Linked DNA regions of Homo sapiens: regions 1 and 2 are each linked to region 3. The links are contacts of gene promoters, found by promoter capture Hi-C in blood cells and fetal thymus (Javierre and others, 2016). All regions are on one chromosome and are shown on one strand. The core of a region is centred on a gene start or on the middle of the fragment in contact, and the rest is flanking DNA. Distances in the headings are between cores, read along the strand shown. Region 1 overlaps NXF1 (nuclear RNA export factor 1). Region 2 overlaps SCGB1A1 (secretoglobin family 1A member 1). Region 3 holds the start of EML3 (EMAP like 3).

Region 1 (3,923 bases), core at 509-3,008, 180 kb after region 3:
TGAAGGTCAGTAGAGGTAGGCCTACCCTCGCCACTCAGCAACCCCACTCAGCTAACCTGACCTCCTGGAGGCCCAGAGATCCTAGTCTTTTTGCCACTGTATTTCCAGACCTTACCTTGAGATGAGTGAAGGCCTGGGCAGATCTGGTGTAGTCCCAGTTGTTGTCCTGAAGGCACCTGGAGTGGAAGAACAGGCAGCTCTGTAAGAACTCTGACTCGTAAATGCCAGCTGAAAGTCCACTCCATAAAAGCACCCAAGTTTGCCAACAAATATGTACATTCTTATACATCCTTGCACTATTTATACAAATGAGACATTAGTAAAAGTCCAGATGTTCTACCAATGGCTTCTCAAAGATAAGGAATATTAAATAGCTGTCAAGAAGCTCAAGATAGTTTTTACAGTGGTAGGGAAAGATGTTCATGGTGTAAGTAAAGAAACTAAGTTGCAGAACAGTATATGAAAAGGAACTTCCATTTTACCTTTAAAGTTTTTTATGTTAATTTATACACAGGCAAATTTTTTATAGACTATCAGGTTTGTGTTTTTCTGTTTGCTTTTTTTTTTTTTTTGAGACCGAGTCTTGCTCTGTCACCAGGCTGGAGTGCAGTGGCGTGATCTCGGCTCACTGCAACCTCCGCCTTCCAGGTTCAAGCAATTCTCCTGCCTCAGCCTCCCGAGTAGTTGGGACTACAGGCGTGGAACGCCAAGCCCCGCTAATTTTTGTATTTTTAGTAGAGACGAGATTTCACCATGTTGTCCAGGATGGTCTTGATCTCTTGACCTCGTGATCTGGCCGCCTCAGCCTCCCAAAGTGCTGGGATTACAGGTGTGAGCCACCTCTCCCAGCCAACTATTAGGTTTTTTTAAGCAGCCAAAAGTTTTGCCTTTTAAAATTTCAGGAGCCCAGGCACAGTAACTCACACCTATAACCGCAGCACTTTGGGAGGCCTAGGTGGGCAACATGGTGAAACCCCATCTCTGCAAAGAAATACAAAAAAATTAGCCAGGTGCTGTGGCCTATGCCTGTAGTCCCAGCTACTCAGGTGGCTGAGGTGGGAGAATCACCTGAGCCCTAGCAGTTGAGGCTGCAGTGAACTGTGATCACACCACTGTACTCCAGCCTGGGCATCAGAGTGAGACCCTGTCTCAAAACAAACAAGCAAATAAAAATTTGGCTGGGTGCAGTGCCTCATGCCTGTAATCCCAGCACTTTGGGAGGCCGAGGTAGGCAGATCACAAGGTCAGGAGTTCGAGACCAGCCTGGCCAACATGATGAAAGCCCGTCTCTACTAAAAAAAAAAAAAAAAAAAAAAAATACAAAAATTAGCCAGGCATGGTGGTGTGTGCCTGTAATCCCAGCTACTCGGGAGGCTGAGATTGGAGAATTGCTTGAACCCGGGAGGCAGAGGTTACAATGAGCCAAGATCGCACCACTGCACTCCAGCCTGGGCAACATAGCAAGACTCCACCTCCAAAAAAAAAAAATAATAAAATAAAATAAGGTGGCACATGCCTATAGGCCCAGCTACTCTGGAGGCTGAGGTGGGAGGACAGCTTGTGCCCAGGAATTAGAGGCTACAGTGAGTTATGATCACCACTATACTCCAGCCTGGATGACAGCGCAAGAACTTGTCTCCAAAAAAAAAACAAAAAAACTGTCAGGAGCCCTCATTATTTACTACTAGCCCTACTTCAGTGCATCCCCATCCTACACATGCCCCGCACTCACTTCTGGGACCACTCGAGGTTCATGCCAGACTGGGTAGAGAATGCTTGCAACATTTCCTGCTGCTCTGGAGAGAGGGTGGGCACCGGGCTGGAGGAAGGCGTGGGTGCAGGCATAGCGAAGGCTCTTTGGATCTCTTCAGAACTGGCATTCCGCACAAATAGCTCATCATTTACAATACATAGCCTTGAGGACAAAGAGCACTTAAAAAGCTAGACAGAGATAACATCATCCTCCCAACATCATTCCTATTCTCTGATTCTTTCAATATCCACAAGGTCCCCCTCCCACTCTTAGCTATTGTTACCTTTTATCATTTATCCCCTCCCATGGAATCAATGTTTGGAAGGATTATCTACTAAACACACTAGGGTTCTCCCAACGCATGGACTTTAGCTCTTTTAATTCATCCTCACAACAAACTTAGGAAATGAATATTGTTATATGAATTTTCAGATGAGGCAGCAGCCTACTTGCTAGAAGTGGTGGAGCCAGGATGAAAACCCAGACGGTACAATTCCAGAGCCAAGCTATTAACTGGCTCTTAACTACTATGTGAGCTTTCTCTGATTTCCTGTTGCCTTTCTGAAATCACCCCAAAGACTGACTCTACCCTCCAATTACCACACTGTTGGCCATGGATTAGGACTGGTATCCAATGCGAAAAGCAGAATACTTACCCTGAATTGCTAGCAGGAACAGCAATGAATGTCCGGGTGAAGGCTCGCAAAGAATCCCGGGACTTTCCGTCCACTGCAATAAGAACAGCAACAACACCTTAGGGTCACTAGTGCTTTATGTTTACAAACAGCTTCTTGAATCATGGTCTTTGATATAAAGAATCCTAGCAAGTCAGAGAGGAATGATTAAGTATATAAGGGTATAAGGGAAGCACAGGTGGGGTGAAGGGTCAGGTCAGAAAGGACAATAGTAATAACTACGGCCGGGCACAGTGTCTCATGCGTATAATCCCAGCACTTTGGGAGGCTGAGGTGGGCAGATCACGAGGTCAAGAGATCGAGACCATCCTGTCCAACATGGCGAAACCCCTTCTCTACTAAAAATACAAAAATTAGCTGGGCGTGGTAGTGCGCACCTGTAGTCCCAGCTACTCGGGAGGCTGAAGCAGGAGAACCACTTGAACCCAGGAGACGGAGGTTGCAGTGAGCCAAGATTGCGCCACTGCACTCCAGCCTGGTGATAGAGTGTGACTCCATCTCAAAAAAAAGTAATAACTACTAATCCACTGATAGCATCTGTATGCCAGGCCCCAGGCCAAGCACTTTGTAAGTCACTTCAGTTTACTTCCTATAGCACCACTATGAGACGGCTATTACTAACCCCATCTTACAAATAAAGAATCTGTCTTAGAGGTAATGTTACTTGTCCACAGCCCCGCACAACCAAAACTAGGATGGAAACTAAGAACTGCCTGACTCCAAAGTCCTCCTAATCCCCAGGCTTTTCCCACATCCAGACAGGACAGGTGGAGAGGTAGGCCAAGCCAAGACGGCTTGGGGGCAGAATGGGAGAAGGAGCTCAAAAAGAAAATGGGAGAGAAAGTAGCTGGGAAGCTAAGAGTGCTGAGGAAAATTCCAGCTGGGGGTGGGACCACGCTACAAACTCGGGACTCTAAAGATTCTTACCTTCCTTGAAGACTCCATTGACAGAAAAACACAGCAATGTGCTCTGAAAGAGAAGCAGCATCAGGTACAATGTACACTTCTCAGAGCCTGAGTGCCCCCCCTTGCCTATTAAATGCCACCCCCACCCCAATTCTAGGCTTCTGTCAGGCGCAAGCAGGAGCTTACTGTCTGGGCGCTTATGTCTACCACGAAGGAATTGACGTCGTGCTGGGTTTTGGGCAACTCATTGAGGAAGGCAACAACGTTGAGACGCGTGTGCTTCAGCAGCCGGAACCGCAAGGCTGTGGGTAGAGGAGAAAGCTCAGTGGTGCTGCCACACACTCCTGAGTTCTGACTGATTCCTTCCCATGCCCTTTTCCCATATTTTGTTCGTATCACACACTTACTAGGGTCTTTAAGCTTCTTCACATTTCTGCTATCCTTGAAATACTCGGCTAAGCTGCTTCTGGGGGAATAAAAGGAATGGACGTGGTGTTCAGAGCAGTGCTGCCAGCAGGTGTGCCCTGTATCTGCTGGGAAACCCAGTGGTCCCGGGCAGATTCTGGGAT
Region 2 (3,557 bases), core at 426-2,925, 190 kb before region 3:
ATGTTAAGGGGTGGGTCAGAGATGCATTTGTCTATTTGTGTGCACATGCATACAATATTTAACACTTACTTCACACAATGTGCCAATCACTGTCACCCTTTCACATAATATCTCTTTTCATTCTTTTTTTTTTTTTTTTTTGAGACAGAGTCTCGCTCTGTTGCCAGGCTGGAGTGCAGTGGCGCGATCTCAGCTCACTGCAACCTCCGCCTCCCGGGTTCAAGCGATTCTCCTGCCTCAGCCTCCCAAGTAGGTGGGATTACAGGCACGCACCACTGCACCCAGCTAATTTTTGTATTTTTAGTAGAGACAGGGTTTCACCATGTTGGCCAGGATGGTCTCCATCTCTTGACCTCGTGATCCACCCACCTAGGCCTCCCAAAGTGCTGGGATTAGGCGTGAGCCACCATGCCTGGCCTCTCTTTTTATTCTTACAACAACCCTATGAAGTAGGGATATTGGGCCAGGCACGGTGGCTCACGCCTGTAATCCCAGCAATTTGGGAGGCCGAGGTGGGTAGATCACTTGAGGTCAGGAGTTCAGGACCAACCTGGCCAACATGGTGAAACCTTGTCTCTATTAAAAATACAAAAATTAGCCAGGCATGGTGGCGCATGCCTGTAGTCCCAGCTACTTGGGAGGCCGAGGCAGGAGAATCACTTGAACCTGGGAGGCAGAGGTTGCAGTCAGCCGAGATGGCATCACTGCACTCCAGCCTGGGCAATAGAGCGAGACTCCGTCTGAAAACAAATAAATAAATAAAAATAAAATTTAAATTAAATTAAAATTTAAAAAATAAAAAATAAAATGAAGTAGGGATATTGTTCCCATTTTACAGATGAGAAAACTGAGCTACAGAAACACAGAGTGACTTGCCTGGTGACACAGTAAGTTACACATCAAGGACCTAAGTTCTGGAGAGGGTCTGACTTGGAGTGGCAATTTCTAGTGAGGCCCTAGAGTCAGAGGAGGGAAGGCAAATTTGTTCAGAAGGCAGAGAATTCAAGGAAAAGGGATTTGAGACTCACTGGGAAGATGGAGGCAAGCAGTGGGTAGAAAATGGTGACTTTCCCCCATGTTCCTGGTTGTAAGGACCTGAGAAGAAAACAGAGTCTGGAAGCTCTGTGTTGAAGGGAATGAAGTGGTACAAGTGGCTGCTCTGTCCATGAGCTGAGTGTGCCACAGGGCCCGCTGTGCACATGTGCACACCTCTTCCCGGCCAGGTTCGGGGGCCCATGTTTGGCTGGTACAATCTCAATGGCTTCTTTTCTTTTCTTTTCTTTTCTTCTTTTTCTTTTCTCTTGCTTGCTTGCTTGCTTGCTTGCTTGCTTGCTTTTTGAGACAGAATCTCGCTCTGTTGCCCAGGCTGGAGTGCAGTGACGAGATCTCAGCTCACTGCAACTTCTGCTTCCTGGATTCAAGTGATTCTCCTGCCTCAGCCTCCTGAGTAGCTAGGATTACGGGTGCCCAGAACCACGCCCGGCTAATTTTTTGTATTTTTAGTAGAGACGGGGTTTCACCATGTTGGCCAGGCTGGTCTCGAACTCCTGACCTCGTGATCTGCCTGCCTCGGCCTCCCAAAGTGCTGGGATTACAGGTGTGAGCCACCGTGCCTGGCTTACAATCGCTTTTTCCTGCCAGAGCCTGAATTTGTCACATGCCCCCAGTGAAGCATGGCTCAGGGCATCTCTAACCACTGATGAGAGGCAAGTTTCTGGTGGGAAATAAAACCCTCAGTGGCCTCTTCCCAGCCTCCACACTGCATTAAAAAATCAGGCCAGCAGCTTCTATGATCAATACTCTGCCTTGATCTCCAACAGAAAGAAAAACGGCACCTTGCTCACCTCAACCCAAGAAGTCTAAGGAAGACTCGGGCAATCCACAAATCTTACACTCTAGTCCATCGATGAAAAGGCTGCTATCTCTCGCTGATGGGCCTGGCTGTTTGCATCTGGGCAGACCCAGCCAGAGGGCTAGCCAGCTTGGAAAGGGGCCTGGAGACATGTGCCTTCTCTCCTCTGTGTTGCAGCTTCTGCAGAGATCTGCCCGAGCTTTCAGCGTGTCATCGAAACCCTCCTCATGGACACACCCTCCAGTTATGAGGCTGCCATGGAACTTTTCAGCCCTGATCAAGACATGAGGGAGGCAGGGGCTCAGCTGAAGAAGCTGGTGGACACCCTCCCCCAAAAGCCCAGAGAAAGCATCATTAAGCTCATGGTAACCAGCACCTTTCACGTCACACTGGTTAGAAGTGGCTTCCCCAAGTGGGGCTGCAGGATTGCCCCAGTTTTCAGACCTGTTTCTAATCCAGAGAGGAGAGTCACAGTGCCACTGTCCCCAGGCAGGCAGCACAGTGATCTTTCTAGACATCTCCTCTTCCTTTTTTTTTTTTTTTTTTTTTGAGACAGAGTCTCGCTCTGTCGCCCAGACTAGGGTGCAATAGCACGATCTTGGCTTACTGCAACCTCCACCTCCCAGGTTCAAGCGATTCTCCGGCCTCAGCCTCTTGAGTAGCTGGGATTACAGGCACCCACCATCATGCCGAGCTAATTTCTGTATTTTTGTAGAGATGGGGTTTCACCGTGTTTGCCAGGCTGGTCTCGAACTCCTGACCTCAGGTGATCCACCCGCCTCAGCCTCCCAAAGTGCTGGCATTACAGGCGTGAGCCACCACGCCCAGCCTCCCCTTACTATTTTGTAAGAGGCTTTTGAGAAACAATCCAAGCCCTTACTACCTTAGTTCCTCCTAGAGTTGACTGCACCTCTCGGTTAATGTTGAAGTTTCTGTGGCTCGTCATCTCTGCCTAACTATGCAATTCATTCACTGTTGTATTGGGTTTTTCTGTTTCTTTGTCTATTTGTTTTAGGAAAAAATAGCCCAAAGCTCACTGTGTAATTAGCATTTAGAAGCTGAAGATCCCCAACTGCTCCAGCCTCTGCCGCTGCCATGCTTTGAGTCCACGCCCACCAGCCTTGCTCTCTTCAATAAACCACAAGCATCTCACTTTTGTGCCCCCTGCGTGGTTTTGGTCTCCTTGTTATGGTGGGGGGTCTGCCCCTGTCAGGGTAAGGTGAGCCAGGACAAAAGGAAAGCAGCCGAGCTCTGCCCTTGGATCCCAGCAGAAATCTCTGTGCTCTTCCAAAGCTCTTTTCCTCTAGGTTTCTGCCTCCAACAGAGCTCAAGCCCCCTCCCCTTATATCAGACCATCTACTCAACATCACAGACTCTACTCAACATCACAGACTCCACTTGTCCAACAGAACCAGTGATCCTGCCCCAGTCTGTTCCTATCTCAGTGAGTTCTGGCTCCATCCTCCCCGCTGGGCTGCACCAGCCTGAGGAGCATCCGCGATCCTTCCTTCTCTAGCCAACCCAGGCTACCTCTAAAGGGCCTCTGGAATCCTTCACTCCAAGTCCACAGGCAACACCCCCATCCCTGCCTGTACAGCCCCCGGGGCCTCCTCTCTGGCTCCCAGCCAGACTCCAGGGCCCCCACAATCCCTTCTCCAACAACCCAAAGGAATTCTTCTCAAGTGCAAAGTCCCTCCCCATCCTT
Region 3 (3,917 bases), core at 955-3,454:
AAATCCTGACTCTAGCTGTGTGACCCCAGGCAAATGACTTACCCTCTCTGAGCCTGCTTCCTCACCTGTGCAATGAGCAGCATGAGACCACCTAACCCCCAAGGATGTTGTGGGGACTGACTGAGATGGAGGAGGTCGAGGGTTTAGCACAGTGCCCGGTACACAGCAGGCGCCCCAGAAGTGTTTGTTTCTTTATTCCTGTTGGGCAATCAGGTCCCCCCACCCCAACCAGGGATGTGAGGTGAGGGATATGGAAAGTCGAGAGCCTGCGCCTGGGGCGGGGTGGGTTGAGGGGAAGCCTCACCCACCTCTCTGTGCTCCCGGACCGCACTAACAGGTTGGCGGAGGAGATTGCCTTCCTGGAGAGCTTCTGCCGAGGCCGCTCTGAGGGGGATGAGGAGGAGGAAGAATTTCTTCGCGGCCTGGTGGGGGCATAGTGAAGGTCATTCCCTCCAACTGTACTCTGCAATCCTACCACCCCTCCCAGCTTCCGCCACAGGGCCACAGGACACCTACGTGTCAGCACGCTGTGGGGGCTGCAAGGGCCTGAGGATCCCCGGGGGGCCAGGGGAGCCAGCACCACTGCTGCTGCTGCCCCCTCCTTCAGATTGGGTCCCGCTAGGCTCTTCGCTGGCCCCCTGAGGGGCTGGGGGTCCATTGCTCAGGCCAGGGGGTCCAGGGGATGACTTGAGCTCCACCTCTGTCTCCGTCTGGGTGCCTCGGCTCACCAAGGAAGGGGTGCACGTGGGTGGCAGTCCTGGGGGGGCTGCAAGACTGCTGGAGAGATGTTGAATTAACCTGAAGCCCCAGAGGCCCCAAGGAGGAGGAAAAATGGGGTGTGATGACATGCATACCTGTCCCCCGGAGGAGCTGGTGTGCCAGAGCCCTGCAGGGAGGAAGGGGGCACCTGCAGCCGCAGCAGGCGAAGGGCTTCTGCCAGGGCTGCCTTTACCAGTTCCATCTCCTGCTCCTGCACCCGAAGCCGCTGGCTCAGAGACTGGAGGGCCTCCCGAGCAGGGCCGTCACCTGGGAAAAGGGCAAGAGGTACTCAGAATGTACCCATCACCTGAAGAAAGCGTAGAGGGGATTCTGTCTCCCCACAACTTTACATGTGTCCGGTAGGACTGCCCCTTTCAGGCAGCCCCAGGCTTGAATGCTCGTCCAGAGGGGAGGAGACGGTGGTAAAGGATCAAGGGCCTCCTTCTGGCAGGGCAGGCGAGAAACCTGGCAAAGCTCCCTTCCTGCTGCCGTCTCAGCCTCCGCAAAGACTGGGAGTACCATGGAGTACCGGGGGGGAAATATGGAGTACTGCCGAGGAACGTGGGAGCCACAGAGAGAGGCGCCGCACTGGTGAGGGCAGGGACCGCAGCCCTCCCCACGCGCCCCCAGCAAGCTCAGGTCTCCAGCGAAAGCTGAGTAACTGAGCCGGGGGAACACCAGGAGAGAGAACGGGGTGCGGGAATGGAGTCATACTGAGGACCCAGAGTACAAGAAAAGAGATCCAGAGTGACAGGAGAGAGTGTGAGTGGTGAGCAGAGTCACAGTGAAGGTCTCAGGGGGCAGTGGGGATCAGAAGGAAAAAGACCTGAAATACCACGAGAAGAGGCCCGGAGTAACGCAGGGGGCAGGGAAACATCGAGGGGCCCGGAGTTACGTGGGGCGTAGAATGACGCTGGGGAAGCCCGAAGTGACAGCAAGACCCAAGCAACTAGGGAGGGCGACCGGAGGAACTGTGGAGGATGCTCGGAGCCCCTGGGGCGGAGGAGCACGCGGGGACGCCTCCAGACAGCCGTCCAGCTCTGGCATAACCCGACGAGCCGGGCGCTCCGGGAAGGGGCACGCCGCCCGCCCCGCCCCGTACTCACCGGGCCCCGCGGCCCCGTCCATCCGGCCCCCGGGTTGCTCCGAGCGGCGGCGGCGGAGGAGGCGTCTAAGCCGCGGGGGCCACGGCCGGGGAGAGGGGAAGGGGAAGCACCCCGGGGCGCGCGCGAAGGGCGCCGTACCACCACCCCGAGGGGGCGCTGTCGGGCGCGGGGAAGGGGCCTGGAGGGGGCGCTGTGGGCCCGGGGCCGCAGTCTCCAGACCCCCCCGGGCCCTCGGACTCTCCCGGGGCCGCTCTCGGCTCCCGGGGGTGGGGTGGCAGGGCCGTCCGGTGCCACAGCGCCGCAGCACAAACAGGCGCCGGACGCGGAGCCGCCAGGAAGCGCGGGAGGGGGGGCGGGCCCGAGGGGGGGCCGGGCCGCTTGGTAACCCCTCCCTGTCCGGGCCTCGCCGCTCAGTACGGGGGCGGGGCTAGCCGGCTGACCCCCTGGCCTACTCCCGGCCTCCGGCTCCAGGCCCTTCCCGGATCCCCGCCCCCGGATTCCCAGGGGACGGGGAAGGGAGCGCCCGCCCCGATATCTCCGCCCCCCAGCCCCTAACCCCTCAGGGTTGAGCGGACCAACCCCACCACTTCCGCGAGGGGCAGGGGCGGGGTCACAAAACGGGCCCTCGGCCTAGGGGCGGAGTTTCTCGTAAGGGGCAAGGCCAAGGCATCTTGTATTGGGGCTGACAGGGGGGCGGGTTATTAGGGCTGAGGATGGGAGGATGCTCAGGGTATTGGGGTCAGGGTGGCATTAGCCCAGCTCAAGCCGGGCCGGGCTGACTCAGCATCCTGCCCCAGCCAGCTTCCATCCCTGACACCTCTGCATTCCCTTGGGCAGAGATGGGAGATGGCGCCGGTGTTGCCCCTGGTGCTGCCCCTGCAGCCCCGCATCCGCCTGGCACAAGGGCTCTGGCTCCTCTCCTGGCTGCTGGCGCTGGCTGGTGGCGTCATCCTCCTCTGTAGTGGGCACCTCCTGGTCCAGCTAAGGCACCTTGGCACCTTCCTGGCTCCCTCCTGTCAGTTCCCTGTCCTGCCCCAGGCTGCCCTGGCAGCGGGCGCGGTGGCTCTGGGCACAGGACTAGTGGGTGTAGGAGCCAGCCGGGCAAGTCTGAATGCAGCTCTATACCCTCCCTGGCGAGGGGTCCTGGGCCCGCTGCTGGTGGCTGGCACGGCTGGTGGGGGGGGGCTCCTGGTCGTCGGCCTCGGGCTAGCCCTGGCTTTGCCTGGGAGTCTGGATGAGGCGCTGGAGGAGGGCCTGGTGACTGCCTTGGCTCACTACAAGGACACAGAGGTGCCTGGGCACTGTCAGGCCAAAAGGCTGGTGGATGAGCTGCAACTGAGGTACCACTGCTGCGGGCGCCACGGGTACAAGGATTGGTTTGGGGTCCAGTGGGTCAGCAGCCGTTACCTGGATCCCGGTGACCGGGATGTGGCTGAGTGAGTGATTTGCGTCTCCCTTCCTCCTCCTCCTCCTCCCTGGACAGGCTCCCTCCTGCTGCCTTGAATCCCCACCTCGCTCAGAGGGGCAATAAGTAGAACATAGTGGCTGAGAGACTGGTTACAGCTCTGCCATTTATTAGCTGTGAAACCCAGGGCATGTTACCAAACCACCCTGGGCCCATTCCTTCACCTGTAAAATGGAAATAATAGTACTTATCTGATAGAGTTGTTGTGAAGATGTGAATTATGCTTGGCTGGCACATAGTACAGCAGTCAGTAAATGTTTTACTATTCTTTTTCCCTTCTGAACACCTGTGCCCTTCAGTCCCTCCCCCAGGCCTCTATCTCCAGACATCCTAACCCCTCTGTCCCTCCCTTTGCAGCCGGATCCAGAGCAATGTAGAAGGCCTATACCTGACTGATGGGGTCCCTTTCTCCTGTTGCAACCCCCACTCACCCCGGCCTTGCCTGCAAAACCGTCTTTCAGACTCCTACGCCCACCCCCTGTTCGATCCCCGACAACCCAACCAAAACCTCTGGGCCCAAGGGTGCCATGAGGTGCTGCTGGAGCACTTGCAGGACTTGGCAGGCACACTGGGTAGCATGCTGGCTG

The links. The method cuts DNA at HindIII sites, captures the fragments that hold promoters and counts their contacts. A CHiCAGO score of 5 or more calls a contact.
Region 1: a fragment that was not itself captured here is called in contact with the fragment with the promoter of EML3 in region 3 in 1 of 17 cell types (naive B cells); the score reaches 5.3 in naive B cells.
Region 2: a contact is called between a fragment that was not itself captured here and the fragment with the promoter of EML3 in region 3, in 2 of 17 cell types (naive B cells and total B cells). The highest score is 6.7, in naive B cells.

The regions. Positions count from the first base shown.
Region 1 is chr11:62,792,526-62,796,448 of GRCh38, forward strand. It overlaps NXF1 (nuclear RNA export factor 1), which reads right to left. Exons shown (of 21, transcript NM_006362.5): 15 at 3,762-3,820; 16 at 3,541-3,656; 17 at 3,376-3,418; 18 at 2,410-2,482; 19 at 1,733-1,915; 20 at 116-176. It overlaps MIR6514 (microRNA 6514), which reads right to left and starts at 246; the gene lies at 177-246. The HindIII fragment of the contact is 4,027 bases long and covers 1-3,772 here.
Region 2 is chr11:62,420,192-62,423,748 of GRCh38, forward strand. It overlaps SCGB1A1 (secretoglobin family 1A member 1), which reads left to right. Exons shown (of 3, transcript NM_003357.5): 2 at 2,030-2,217; 3 at 2,868-3,004. The coding sequence ends at 2,900. The region is part of intron 1 of LOC102723765 (a long non-coding RNA gene); the gene reads right to left. Among named protein-coding and RNA genes, the nearest start is that of SCGB1A1, 2.9 kb to the left of the region's middle. The HindIII fragment of the contact is 3,769 bases long and covers 1-3,557 here.
Region 3 is chr11:62,610,571-62,614,487 of GRCh38, forward strand. It overlaps EML3 (EMAP like 3), which reads right to left and starts at 2,205. Exons shown (of 22, transcript NM_153265.3): 1 at 1,866-2,205; 2 at 855-1,026; 3 at 517-774; 4 at 309-422. The coding sequence starts at 1,887. It overlaps ROM1 (retinal outer segment membrane protein 1), which reads left to right and starts at 2,687. Exons shown (of 3, transcript NM_000327.4): 1 at 2,687-3,301; 2 at 3,688-3,917. The coding sequence starts at 2,712. RefSeq lists enhancers at 730-1,288, 1,289-1,848, 2,622-2,681 and a silencer at 1,692-2,571. The HindIII fragment of the contact is 22,044 bases long and covers 1-3,917 here.